Linked DNA regions of Homo sapiens: region 2 is linked to region 1. The links are contacts of gene promoters, found by promoter capture Hi-C in blood cells and fetal thymus (Javierre and others, 2016). All regions are on one chromosome and are shown on one strand. Each heading gives the region's core, a stretch centred on a gene start or on the middle of the fragment in contact. The rest is flanking DNA. Distances are from core to core; before and after follow the strand shown. Region 1 holds the start of LAMA5 (laminin subunit alpha 5). Region 2 has its middle 3.2 kb from the start of GID8.

The links. The method cuts DNA at HindIII sites, captures the fragments that hold promoters and counts their contacts. A CHiCAGO score of 5 or more calls a contact.
Region 2: a contact is called between a fragment that was not itself captured here and the fragment with the promoter of LAMA5 in region 1, in 2 of 17 cell types (total B cells and megakaryocytes). The highest score is 6.0, in total B cells.

Annotation. Positions count from the first base shown.
Region 1 is chr20:62,364,787-62,370,528 of GRCh38, forward strand. It overlaps LAMA5 (laminin subunit alpha 5), which reads right to left and starts at 2,526. Exons shown (of 80, transcript NM_005560.6): 1 at 2,163-2,526. The coding sequence starts at 2,459. RefSeq lists enhancers at 1-632, 1,331-2,030, 4,129-4,828 and a silencer at 2,210-2,649. The HindIII fragment of the contact is 18,996 bases long and covers 1-5,742 here.
Region 2 is chr20:62,932,059-62,937,800 of GRCh38, forward strand. It overlaps a transcript of DIDO1 not described here. Among named protein-coding and RNA genes, the nearest start is that of GID8, 3.2 kb to the right of the region's middle. RefSeq lists silencers at 5,290-5,339, 5,610-5,659. The HindIII fragment of the contact is 239 bases long and covers 3,326-3,564 here.

The DNA of each region.
Region 1 (5,742 bases), core at 1,276-3,775:
TGCCCAGCTAATGTGCATCTCCTACAGAGGGTCCCTGAGAGCCCCTGGCCTGCAGCCTTGAGAACACACTGCCCAGCCCCAGGCCCCATAGCCTTAGTGAGCCCCCTCAGATGGAGCTGCGGCTTCATCGCCTGGGCACCTCCTGTGCCTGCCTGCCTTGCCCCAACCGCAGCTCCACTCCAGACCGGCCGGCAAGGACTTCTCACACGCCCAATCCGCGGCCAGGGCGGTCAGCAGACCCGCGGCTCTCAGATGAAGGAGGCATCCAAGGTCATACCCGTCCAGCTCACGTCTACCAGCTGATCTTTCTACATATCTGGCAGCCTCAGCGGGCACTCACTGCTCAGAGCTCGAGACTTTGGAAGCGAAGGGTTCACCTCTATTGCTAGACATGAGCTGGGCGAGGCCGGCTGGTTTCTCATCCAAGCTGGCTCTGAGGCATGGAGCACCACAGCCCACAGCTGCCACTGAAACTGTGGCCACTTCCCAGGCTCCTCGGGCCAAGCTCACAGTCTCAGGTGAGGGGGGCCAGCACGCTGTGCCCATTTTAAAGACAGCTTGAGGCTGACAGAGGGAAGCCACACAGCTGAGGCAGAGGAGAGGGGCGTTGACTACAGGCTGGCCCTTTACTCACGAGACGGGGGTAATAAGCCCCCACAGAGGAGACAGATCTGAGAGGGGGCCTGTGGCCCCCAGCCACGCAGCATGGGCAGGCTGTGGGGGGGTGGTCTGAGGTTCACAGGGCACCTGGAGCCTCCCCTGCCAGAACGGCAAAATCTCAGCTGGGGACACTCAGCCAGGCCCTCTGTGGTGAGGTGTGGCAGCAGGTAAGGAGACAGTCACAGGCCCTCCGTCCTGAGACCCGGCCCCTCTGAGTTGACCAGATAAGGGGGCAGCCAGGAGGCACCCAGGTTCCCACAGCTAACCCCCGCTGGACCCTGTTCTGGCTGGGGGGCTCCAAGCAGGTGTCAGCAGCTTTCCAGGGCTCAGATCCCCCATCTGAAGTGTGGGCTTGAGACCTCCTATCTCAGAGGACTGTGCTGGGCTTAAGGAGAGAACGGTGAGCCCAGAAGCCTGGGGAGGCTCCTTCCCCCTCCACCAGGGCCAAGGGGGTGGGGCAGGCAGAGGGGGCGGGCCCAGCCCAGGCTCCTCCATTCATCCCCATAACGTCTTGCTCCAGGGCCCTCTGCCCCCACCCAGCAAATCTCCAGCTACTCGCCCCTGCCCCAGCCTCTCCTTCCGGGAAGGCAGAGGTACCAGGGAGGAGACAGCTCAGGTTACACAGGCCCTCAGGGCCCCTAGACTCTCCCTAAGGTGGGGCTGAGGTGGGGAATGGGCCTAGAGCGGCCGGTTGGGAGCCGTTGGAGCTGACTTTGCTGCTCCTCACCCAAGGCTGACCCCAGGCCCAACCTAAGTCTACAGGGCCCCAAGAGCCTTGGTTTTCAGGTGAGGTGTCCATGCATGGAGTCCACCAACAGAACCCGCCTACAGGTTTAAGGCTTGTTGGGGAGGGGACATGCACCCCAGGGGGTCTTCAGGGCCTGAACCCACATCTCCCAGGGAGACTGAAGCCCCCGGACCCTACCACCTGCTGGGCAGAGATGCTGCCCCTCCTGGGAGCCACGTGTTCCCAGCCCCAGTCAAAACTTCGCAGCTGGCCCTCCCCTACTTTGGAGGTCTCCTCGAGTCCCTAGACTCCTCCGAGAGGGGCTAGTGGGAGCCTCAGGTGGCTGGCCCCTCCCACCCCATCCAGAGGCCAACAGGTTCCAGCCTGTCCCGGGTAGGGCGGAGCTGCGCCCCCTCCCCACCGGCAGCAGGCGGCGGAGGCCAAGTCCCGCCCTCCCCGGGATCCCGGACTTGGGGCCGCCAGGGACTGGGCCCGGCCCCCCTCCCGCCCCGGTCACCGCAGTCGAACTGGACCGGCGCCCAGCCGCCCCCGGGTCCATGCCGGGGACTTTAATTCCGCCTTCCCGGAGGGACGCGAAGTTTCCCGGCCGAGACGGAGCGGCCGGGTCGGGGTGCCTTCTTGGGCCCCCAAAATGCGGAACCAGAGAGTCCGCACCTGGACTCGCCCCGGGCCACGGCGCTCCCCCTGGGGTCGGGCCGGTGTTCCGGGTCCGAGTGCCCCGGGAGGAAGCCCCACGGCCCGCCCCTGCGCTCACCCGGATGGTCTGGTTGGGGTCGCCGCCGGCCACGGGGCCCCCTACCAGCTTGCAGTAAAGGTCCTCGGTGGGGCGCGGGGAGCCGCGCGCCGGGGCCTCCTCTCCGCAGGTCGCGGAGGCGGCGATGCGGGCGCCCTCGGCCAGGTTGAAGTAGGGCGGGTGCAGGCTGAAGCCGCCGCCCGCCTCCTCCCGCGCCCGCGCCGCGCCCAGCAGCGCCAGCCCGACCAGCAGCAGCGGCGCGGGGCCCCGGGGGCCGCGAACACACAGTGCGCTCCCCGCGCAGAGCCGCTTCGCCATCTTCCCGGCTCCGGGCCGCGTCCCCGAGCTCCAGGGACAGCGCGCGCGGCGGGAGCCCGGCGGGTCTGAAGCCAGGCGGCCGGCAGGGCTCGCTCCGCCCGCGGACGTCAGGCCCCGCCCCGGCCCGCCCGAGCGCCCGAGCCCCGAGCCCCGGGGAGAGGTCCGGGGAGGCGGGGTGGGGGGGGGAAGGAGAGAGGAGGGGGAGGGGCGGCCGGGCGGCCTTAACCCTTCGGACCCCGGCCCGGCCGCCTCCCGGAAGGGGCACCTGCTGGCCTCGGGCCAGGCCGTGGGACGACGGCGCCGCCGGGCCCCCAGCCCAGGTCGTAGCTCCGGGTCCCGGGTGGGACCCTAGCGCTCCCCACGACGCCCTGGCCCCCAGAGCGCCCACCAGCTCCTCCCAGCCCAGGGGCCCACTCTTTGTTCCCCTAACTTGGGTGCACCACTCGGCTGCCCCCGCTCCTCCCCCAACAGCGTCCGTCCTGCTGGCTGCGGGAAGGTGCCCTCTGCACCCGCGAATGACCATCTGCAGAGGAACGGGGCAGCCTAGGTGGGAACCCCCTGCTTCCTGGGGCAGCCAGGTCAGGTTCAACTCGGCCTGGCTCCCGCCTGCCCCAGCAGGGCTTAAAAATACTCTCAGATAGGGAAATAGGGGCAGGAGGGACTGGCCTGCAGCTGCAGCCCCCTTTAGAGGACGGGGGCGGTGCTCATGGCCCCACAGCCGCCAAATTGGCTCTTAAGGAGGTCGGGGGCTCTGGTCACAGCTGCTGAGCACCTGCTGGGTGCCTGGAAGCACCTGTGCTCCGGGGCCCGGTGGACTCCACCAGCTCTCTCGGCCTGGCCTCCAACCCGCTGCACAGCCGCGCACGCGTTCCTGCCACGATCGGCGGCTCGAGGACGCCTGGCAAACAGCACAGGACCTAGAGGCCGAGATCAGGTCTTCGTCTGCCTTTGGGTGGCTGCGGCCCTGGGTCTCCTACTTCCCTTGGGCTCCGGGGCCAAATCTGCCTCCAGGGAAGCCCCGAGGGGGTGGCGGCGGGGTGGGGCTGCAGCTGCCGAGCTGGCAGCAAACCCCCATCCCTGAGCCAGGCCAGCTGGGCGGGCCATGGTCCCAGATGGGCTGTGGGGCTCATCTCTCGCTGGGTTCCCTGGACAGTCCCGGGGGGCTGGGTGGGTTTGTGGGGCACTGGCCAGCCGGTTCTGGTGGGGGTTCTGAGCTAGCAGCTGTCCCTGGAGGGTGCACCTCCTTGCACACCTTCCTGGCGCCCTGGCCTCCTGCAAATCTCAAATCCCAAGAGGGTGTATGGCCCTTTCTCTACGGAGTCGGGAGGGCGATGGGACCCTCTCTCCCTCCTCCTACTTTCCGGCCCGGCAATTCTTCCATAACTTCACTATTAGTTCTCCCACCTGGGGGAGGGGGGAGAGGAGGCGGCTCCCCTTGGCAGGAGAAGCTCCAAGTGGGGGAGGGGCTGGCTGGAGAGGGGGCGGAGACATCAAGGAATCTGCAGTCCAGGCGCAGAGTCCGGCTCTGAGCTGCTTTAGATCCCGTGTGAGGCAGAGAGTGGCCTCTGGGCAGTAGCGGGTCCCCAGGTGGGGGCTTGGCCCCAGGCAGTGTGCTCTGGCTCTGGGCTCCCCCTTGACAGCTTGGGGCTCTGACAGCCTGGGGGACTGGAGGTGGAGACTCCTGAGACCCTGAGGGCTTCTTGGGATCCCTGGAGGGTCGGGTGGTTGGAGGGGTGGGATTGCGAGTGGCGGGGCAGGGGGAGAGGTGGGGGTGGGGAGAGCACTTTAAGCCTCCTAGCGGCCAGATCAGGCCAAGCTGCCAGGCCTCCGCTGTCCCCCGGCACTGGCCAGGAGGGGAGCGGGGGCCGGCCCTGAGAATGCGCTGTGTCAGCCGGAGCTGCCAGCACCAGCAGGGTTAATCACCGGGCTCACTGCTTCCCGGCAGACAGCTGCCCCGGGAGCAACTGGCAGGCAGGCGGGCAGCGCAGTGGACAAGAGAATGTGGCCCAGGGGCTGGGTAAAGAGCCCACACTCTGCCCCCACCCTGTGTCTGCTGGTGCACGGACTGGGAAGGAGGCAGCTGGGGCAGGAGCTGAGCGTATGGAGGGCGGGGGGGCTGTCCCAGCCGGGCTACACACAGGGGGTTGGGGAGGTGAGCAGGGAGAGGGGCAGCTCATCTCTGCACACCCCCACCCCTGCTGTCTTTGTCATGGTTCCAGTGAGTCATCACCAAATGGACCAGCGAGCCTGTCTCCTTGTCTTTCTGAGTCCTGCGCAGCCCAGCCACCTCTTCTATTTACAAATGGGGAAACTGAGGCCAAAAAGGCCAGGGTCAATCAAGAGCACACAAGTTAGTAAAGCAAGAGGAAGTTTGTCCATCATTCATTTCTTACTCCTATTTACTGGGCATCTTTCGGGCACCCGCCCGTGACGTAGTCCTCCTCCCTGCAACAGGTCAGACGGCACCCCACCCCCAAACACGTCCTGTCCTGAATCCACAGGAGGGAGCTGCCCAGTCTGGGAGTGGAGGGGAGGGTAAAAGGAGGTGGCTCGCCAGGGGAGGGCCGTGGAGGAGCCTCTGTCCCACCAGGCTCTGGCTGCCCTCCAGGGACAATCCAAGATCCAGAGCCCCTGCCCACCCAGCTCCAGGGTGATGGAGCCCCAGAGGAGGTGGGTCGGGGGCAGGGGTCAGTGGCAGCCCGAGAGAAGTAGGGGCACTCCTGGCCCTGGGGAAGGGGTCTCAGATCCTCCCCCAGCCCTGGGACAAGGTCTGCTGCGGAGCCCTGGGGGCAGCCACCTCACCTGAGCCCCCAGTGCTACTCCAGTGGCATTCCTGAGAATGCCCCCACCCTACTCGGCCACACCTGCAGGCAGCTGTGGGGGACCCTGAGGGTAGGCCACAGGCACATCTGACTCAGCCGTGAGTCGTGAACTCCTGACCTTGGGAGCCTCCTGGGGACACCGCTGTGCTGAGGACATGGGGCACCCCCACGCCCACACTCAGCTGCATCACAGGCAGCCACAATCAGTAACAGATGACTCTGCAGACCCTCCTGTCCCAGAGCCCAGGGTCCAAGTGGGTGCTGTACCCTCGGGAGAAGCCCCCAAGAGGAAGCGGGGGCTGAGCAAGAAGGAGGGCTGGAGGCTGGGCTCCTGCTAGGGCCGGGCCTGCGGGTGAGGCCTTGTGGCTCCCACTCCAGAACTGGGAATGTTGTCTCAGCGGGATGAGGTCTGGAGGAACGCCAGCGCTGTGGTTTGGGATATCGGAGGCCACAGTCCCTTT
Region 2 (5,742 bases), core at 2,195-4,694, 570 kb after region 1:
CAGGGAGGTCTTGCTTTGTTGACCTGGCTGGTCTCAAACTCCTGGCCTCAAGGGATTCCCCTGTCTCAGCCTCCCCAAAGTGCTGGGATTGTAGGTGTGAGCCACCCTGCCTCTTTCATTCCAATAGGAAAGTATTTAAAGAGTAAATGTAGGGCCAGGCACGGTGGCTCACGCCTGTAATCCTGACACTTTGGGAGGCCCAGGAGAGAGGATCACTTGAGCCCAGGAGTTGAAGGCCAGCCTGGGAAACATAGGAACTCTTATTTCTACTTCTACCTGCCCATCAGACACGTGATCACAACAGCTGCATGCATACAAATAACTTAAGACACAGAGAGAACTATCCACATGTATGTGTGTATATTTACATATATTTTTTGTTAATTTTTATAAAAAAGAAAAGTCAGATCCCAAACCAGTAACTGTCTATCAAATCCTGACCAGCCAGGTTCAAACTACATAATCAAACTCAAATGAAATAGTACATAAACAATGCTTTGACCATGTACATTGCTACTCAAAATACTCTTTGGCCTTTCCCACTGGTCTGCAATGGCAGGACTGTATCACCTTCCCTCCTACCACATTTGTTTCAGGTAACAGTATGCTAGATACGGTTTGTCTCAACCTCAGCAGGAGTTAAAGGTTTTAAAAAAATAAAAATAAAAATCAAGAAAAGATTATTCTTGCTCTCACCCAAACAAACTTACAAAATATTCAGTGCTTTCTGATTTAGTGGTATAATCTAGAAAGGGAAATAAAATCAGGCAAAAAGAGGGAGGGGGAAGGTCACCTATATCAAACAATCACCAGTGAAGATTCTTTACAGGGTCTGGGTTCACCAGACACATGGTGTCAGAATATGTGCAGCAGGCCAGGCGCCATGGCTCATGCCTGTATTCCCAGCATTTTGGGAGGCCCAGGCAGGTGGATCACCTGAGGTCTGGAGTTCGAGACCAGCCTGACCAACATGAAGAAACCCCATCTCTACTAACAATACAAAATTAGCCGGGCGTGGTGGCGCATGTCTGTAATCCCAGTTACTCAGGAGGCTGAGGCAGGAGAATCGCTTAAACCGGTAGGCGGAGGTTGCAGTGAGCCAAGATCGTGCCATTGCACTCCAGCCTGGGCAACAAGAGTGAAATTCTGTCTCAAACAAAAAAACAACAACAAAAGAATATGTGCAGCAGACTAAATAGTAAAATTCTTCCTTACCTCTTTCCAACATCTCTAATTGTTTAAAATACTGTGAAAAGTGAAGTTCATGAAAATTGAGGTCTGAGTGTTTCCTACCTACTTCTGCTAACCATTCTAAGCATCAACAACTGATGGGTTTATCAATTATCCTGAAAAGTAAGGTGGTTTGATTTGCCCAATCTCTTTGAAAGCCTGAAGTCTCCAGTATGTAGGGGTTTGATTTTATGCTTTTGGGTTTTGAGAGTAAAACAAAACATCCATGGGAATAATGTGGTTTTGAAACATGGCTGATATCCTGGTTTTTAAACATTCTATGATTTGAGTAAAGGAAGCACTCTATGCAGTGGTTCACACCTGTAATCCCAGCACTCTGGGAGGCTGAGGCAGGAAGACTGCTTGCACGCAGAAGTTTGAGAACAGCCTGGGCAACATAGTGAGACCTCTCCTCTACAAAAAATAAACAAAATTAGCTGGGTGTGGTGGCTTCCGCCTGTAGTCCCAGCTACTCAAGAGGCTAACATGGGAGGATTAGCTGGGAGGTGTAGGTTGCAGTGAGCCATTATCACACCATTGCACTCCAGCCTGGGCAAACTGCTCTCCCCTTTTTAAAAACTCATTAATGTTCTTTTAAGATTAATATACCTTTAGCACTCCTCTTTCTGTTCATCTCTTTCAATATGAAACAACTCAAGTTCAAAGCCACCACCTCAGCTTGCAAGACACTGGAAGCTCTGAACACCTGGTTGCCCCTCAGCTGACTGTAAGGGCCAAGCCTTTGGTTTCTCTCATCCACATGCCCACCTCTGTCATAGGAAAGCTCAGGCAGTTGATGAATCCAGCAGGCTGAAGTCCTTGTCACTGTCCCAGATGCCAACCCGTGTGGCCCTGCACCCTCTCCTGTCCCGGGACCCACCTACCTCTTTCCTGCTCTCCTGCACTCTTGGTGAGCCTCCATGCTGGTGGCTTCAGGGCTCTGGCCCAGGCTCTCCTCCTCTCCCTCCACCCATCCCTTCTCCACAGAGACTTCATGCACACCTGGCTGTAGTTGCCTTTATCTCTGCCTGGATCTGGGCACCATCATTCACCTGCTCCCCTGGCATCTCCACGTGAATGCCTCAAATGCACTTCAAAACCTACCTAACACATGCAAAATGAGCTTAGGACTTCTGACCTCCCTACTACATACTTCCAGGCTCTTCTCTGGCGTTCCCTATCCAGAGGATGGTCCCACCACCCTATAAATTCATAGGCCAGAAGCTGAGAAATTATCCTTGACCCCCCTCCCTGCTCCTCAGTCTCACCTGCTGCTGCAGCGTTTTGTGGCATCTAGCTCACTGCTCACTTCTCAGTACATAAGTGCATGGCCCTAATGGCTTCTGAACACCTTCAACATACTACGCTGTCTTCACCTCACCCCTGCTCACCACACTCCAATGTTTCCCATTCCCATCACATCTCTCAACTTCTTGCTCTCTCACCAAAAACCATCAAATGGGGAGTTTTGGCACCTTCACCCTGGACTTCCCTGCCGCCTGGAAACTGCTAACATAGCTTCTCGAAACTGGACACCCTGTGGCTTCAGGGAGCGCCTTTGAAGCCCCTGGTTCTTGTCAGACCCCCCGGCCACTTTCTTGCTACCCTTCATAGGCAGCTTCTTCCTTAGTGAATACAGCTTGCAGCTCTGCATTCTGGACTTGATCCACTCCTTGTCTCCATGGGCTTCCTCTGAATACTGTACCCATCAACTCTCAACTCTAGCCCTGCTCTTCCCCTTGAGCTTTAGATGTGTCCCACAGGCACCTCCAATTGAATGAGGCCCACGGTGAACTCACCACCTTTCCCTCGTTGTTGCACCTCCTTCTTCTTCATGATCATTCTCAGTTGGTGCCACCACCTCATCAGCTGGGCTACTCACCCGCATCACTCTGGTCTTCCTTCTTAGCTCCCACAAATTGTCAGTCACCAAGGACTGCTCATTTCCATCCTGACTGAAGGTCTCTTTCCATTTTTGCTAGTATTGCTTCCAGTTAAGATCCTCATAATCATTCACTCATTTATTCCTTCGTCACTCAACAAATAAATATTTATGGAGCTCCTATTACGATTTAGCCATAATCAACTCACATGAAGCTTACCATTTTATGCTGAATCATGACATCCCATCAGACAGCAACCACACGGACCGTGTGCTAAGAGCTACGAAGAGCTAAGTTAGGATTCTGTGCAAGCATAAAGGAAAGGCACTCAATCCAGCTTTGTTAGGGAAGACTTCCCCGAGAAAGCCACGTCTCTACTGAGGAGGTGAGCAGGAGTTAGCCTAGGGAAGGCTGTTAGCTAGGGCCCAGACTGAGAGCACAGCGATAACAAAGCTTGTTGACATGAGAAAACCTCCAATCAGCTGGGATGGCTGGAGCAGAGAGTAAGATCAGGAGTGCAGACTTATAGCTGCGCTAACTTTACACAGGCAACTGGGGAGTCCCCAAGGGATGTTAGAAGGATAGAGTCAATGAGTGATGGCTTTTGGAGAGATCACCCTGTCTGCTATGTGAGAGGTAGTGACAGGACTTCTGGAGCTCAACAGGAGTTACGGAGACATCCTGGCAATCCAAAAAGCAAAGATGATGGCTTCCACGTTATGGTGGAAGAGGCTGGGAAACAACACAAAGGAGCCAGTTTCTAGAGAGGATTAAGGAGGGGGCTCGAGCAGGACTTGGTAACCGGTTGGCTGTTGGGAGGAGGAGCATTAACCTGTGACCCACAGGCAGGCACTGAGACAGCCTCTTTGGACTGGAATGTTAAGGAATGTCGCCTTAAGGCGCTAGCACTCAAGCTTTCTGCTCGTGCATCCCCTTGCACACTTTCTCCTTGACGTTCAGGCTGGGCATGGTGGCTGACGCCTGTAAACCCAGCACTCCCAGAGGCCGAGGCGGGAGGATGGCTTGAGCCCAGGAGATCGAGACCAGCCTGGGCAAGAAGGCAAGACCCCGTCTCTAAAAAACTTTAAAAAATAAAAATAGGCCGGATGCGGTGGCTCATGACTGTAATCCGAGCACCTTGGGAGGCCGAGGTGGGTGATCATTTGAGGTCAGGAGTTCGAGACCAGCCTAGCCAACATGGTGAAACCCCACCCGTACTAAAAATACAAAATAAGTAGCCGGGCGTGGTGGCGGGTGCCTGTAGTTCCAGCTACTCGGGAGGCTGAGGCAGGAGAATCACTTGAACCCAGGAGGCGGAGGTTGCAGTGAGTCGAGATCATGACAGTGCACTCCAGCCTGGGCAACAAAGTGAGACTCCTTCTCAAAAAATAGAATAAAATAAAATCAAAATAGGCCGGGAGCGGTGGCTCACGCCTGTAATCCCAGCACTTTGGGAGTCCGAGGCGGGCGGATCACGAGGTCAAGACACTGAGACCAGCCTGACCAACAAGGGGAAACCCCGTCTCTACTAAAAATACAAAAATTAGCTGGGCGTGGTGGTGCGCCCCTGTGGTCCCAGCTACTCGGGAGGCTGAGGCAGGAGAATCGCTTGAACCCGGGAGGCGGAGGTTGCAGTGAGCCGAGATGGCGCCACTGCGCTCCAGCCTGGGCGAGAGTGAGACTTCGTCTCAAAATAAATAACTAAATAAAGACCAATAACTGTTTCCCATAGGGTTATGTAGTTGCAAATGAAAAAATTACTGGCATGTACTGCCTCTGCATATGAAGCATAATTTTGTCAAGACCTTATACCTGCAGATTTAGCTCTTTCGATTAACGGAAAATGTCCAAAATCAGTCTCCTCCAACCTATTTGCCGAACTGGACTTACTGTCGCTGAGTAGACCGACCGACATAGCTTACACGTTGTTCAGCTCGCTTGTAAGCAAACACACGAAACCACCTCACCCCTGACTTCAGAAAGAAGCCGTCCCGTGAATTCCTCACAGATGAAATCAGGAGCTGCCCCTCAAGGACTCTATTTCTTCCTTCGGCTCTATCAAATATTTTAAGGTACTTCCCAGCAACGGAAACATGGGACCCTGCAATGACAGACTTCGCATTCCTCCTGAGCGGACAGGCAATAAGCAAGTAAACGCGCAAATACCCAAGTGCGGCCTCAACCCGCGCTCCTGCCGGGAGGGTCTCCAGTCACCGAGTAACCCCGGCCCTGCCCCGCGCCGCCGCCGGGACTCCGCCCCGCAAGCAAGTGGGGTCTCCTTTGTCCCGCGCGCCCTGGCCGCGTCCCGCCCTTCGGCGTAGCCCATGGGAGGCGCCCTGAGGGCAGGGCCCTTCTGATTCCCCACCTGGCCTCGAGTGAGGACGCGCTCAACAACATCTCGAGTAAAGCGGGGGAACTCGCTTCAACGCGCAGACAGCACAGCTCTCGCCCAGCCCGGTCTCGGGTCAGCCGTCTCTCCCTGGACCTCAGGGACACTAGCCCTGGAAGGCCGCCGGTCGGGAGGGGACTCCCTCCCCGTCTGAGGGGCGGCCGCGGACACCCGGCGCCTTTCCCCCGCCCCACCCCGTGCGGCCTCACGCAAACGACAGGAAAAAAGCTGGGACCTTCG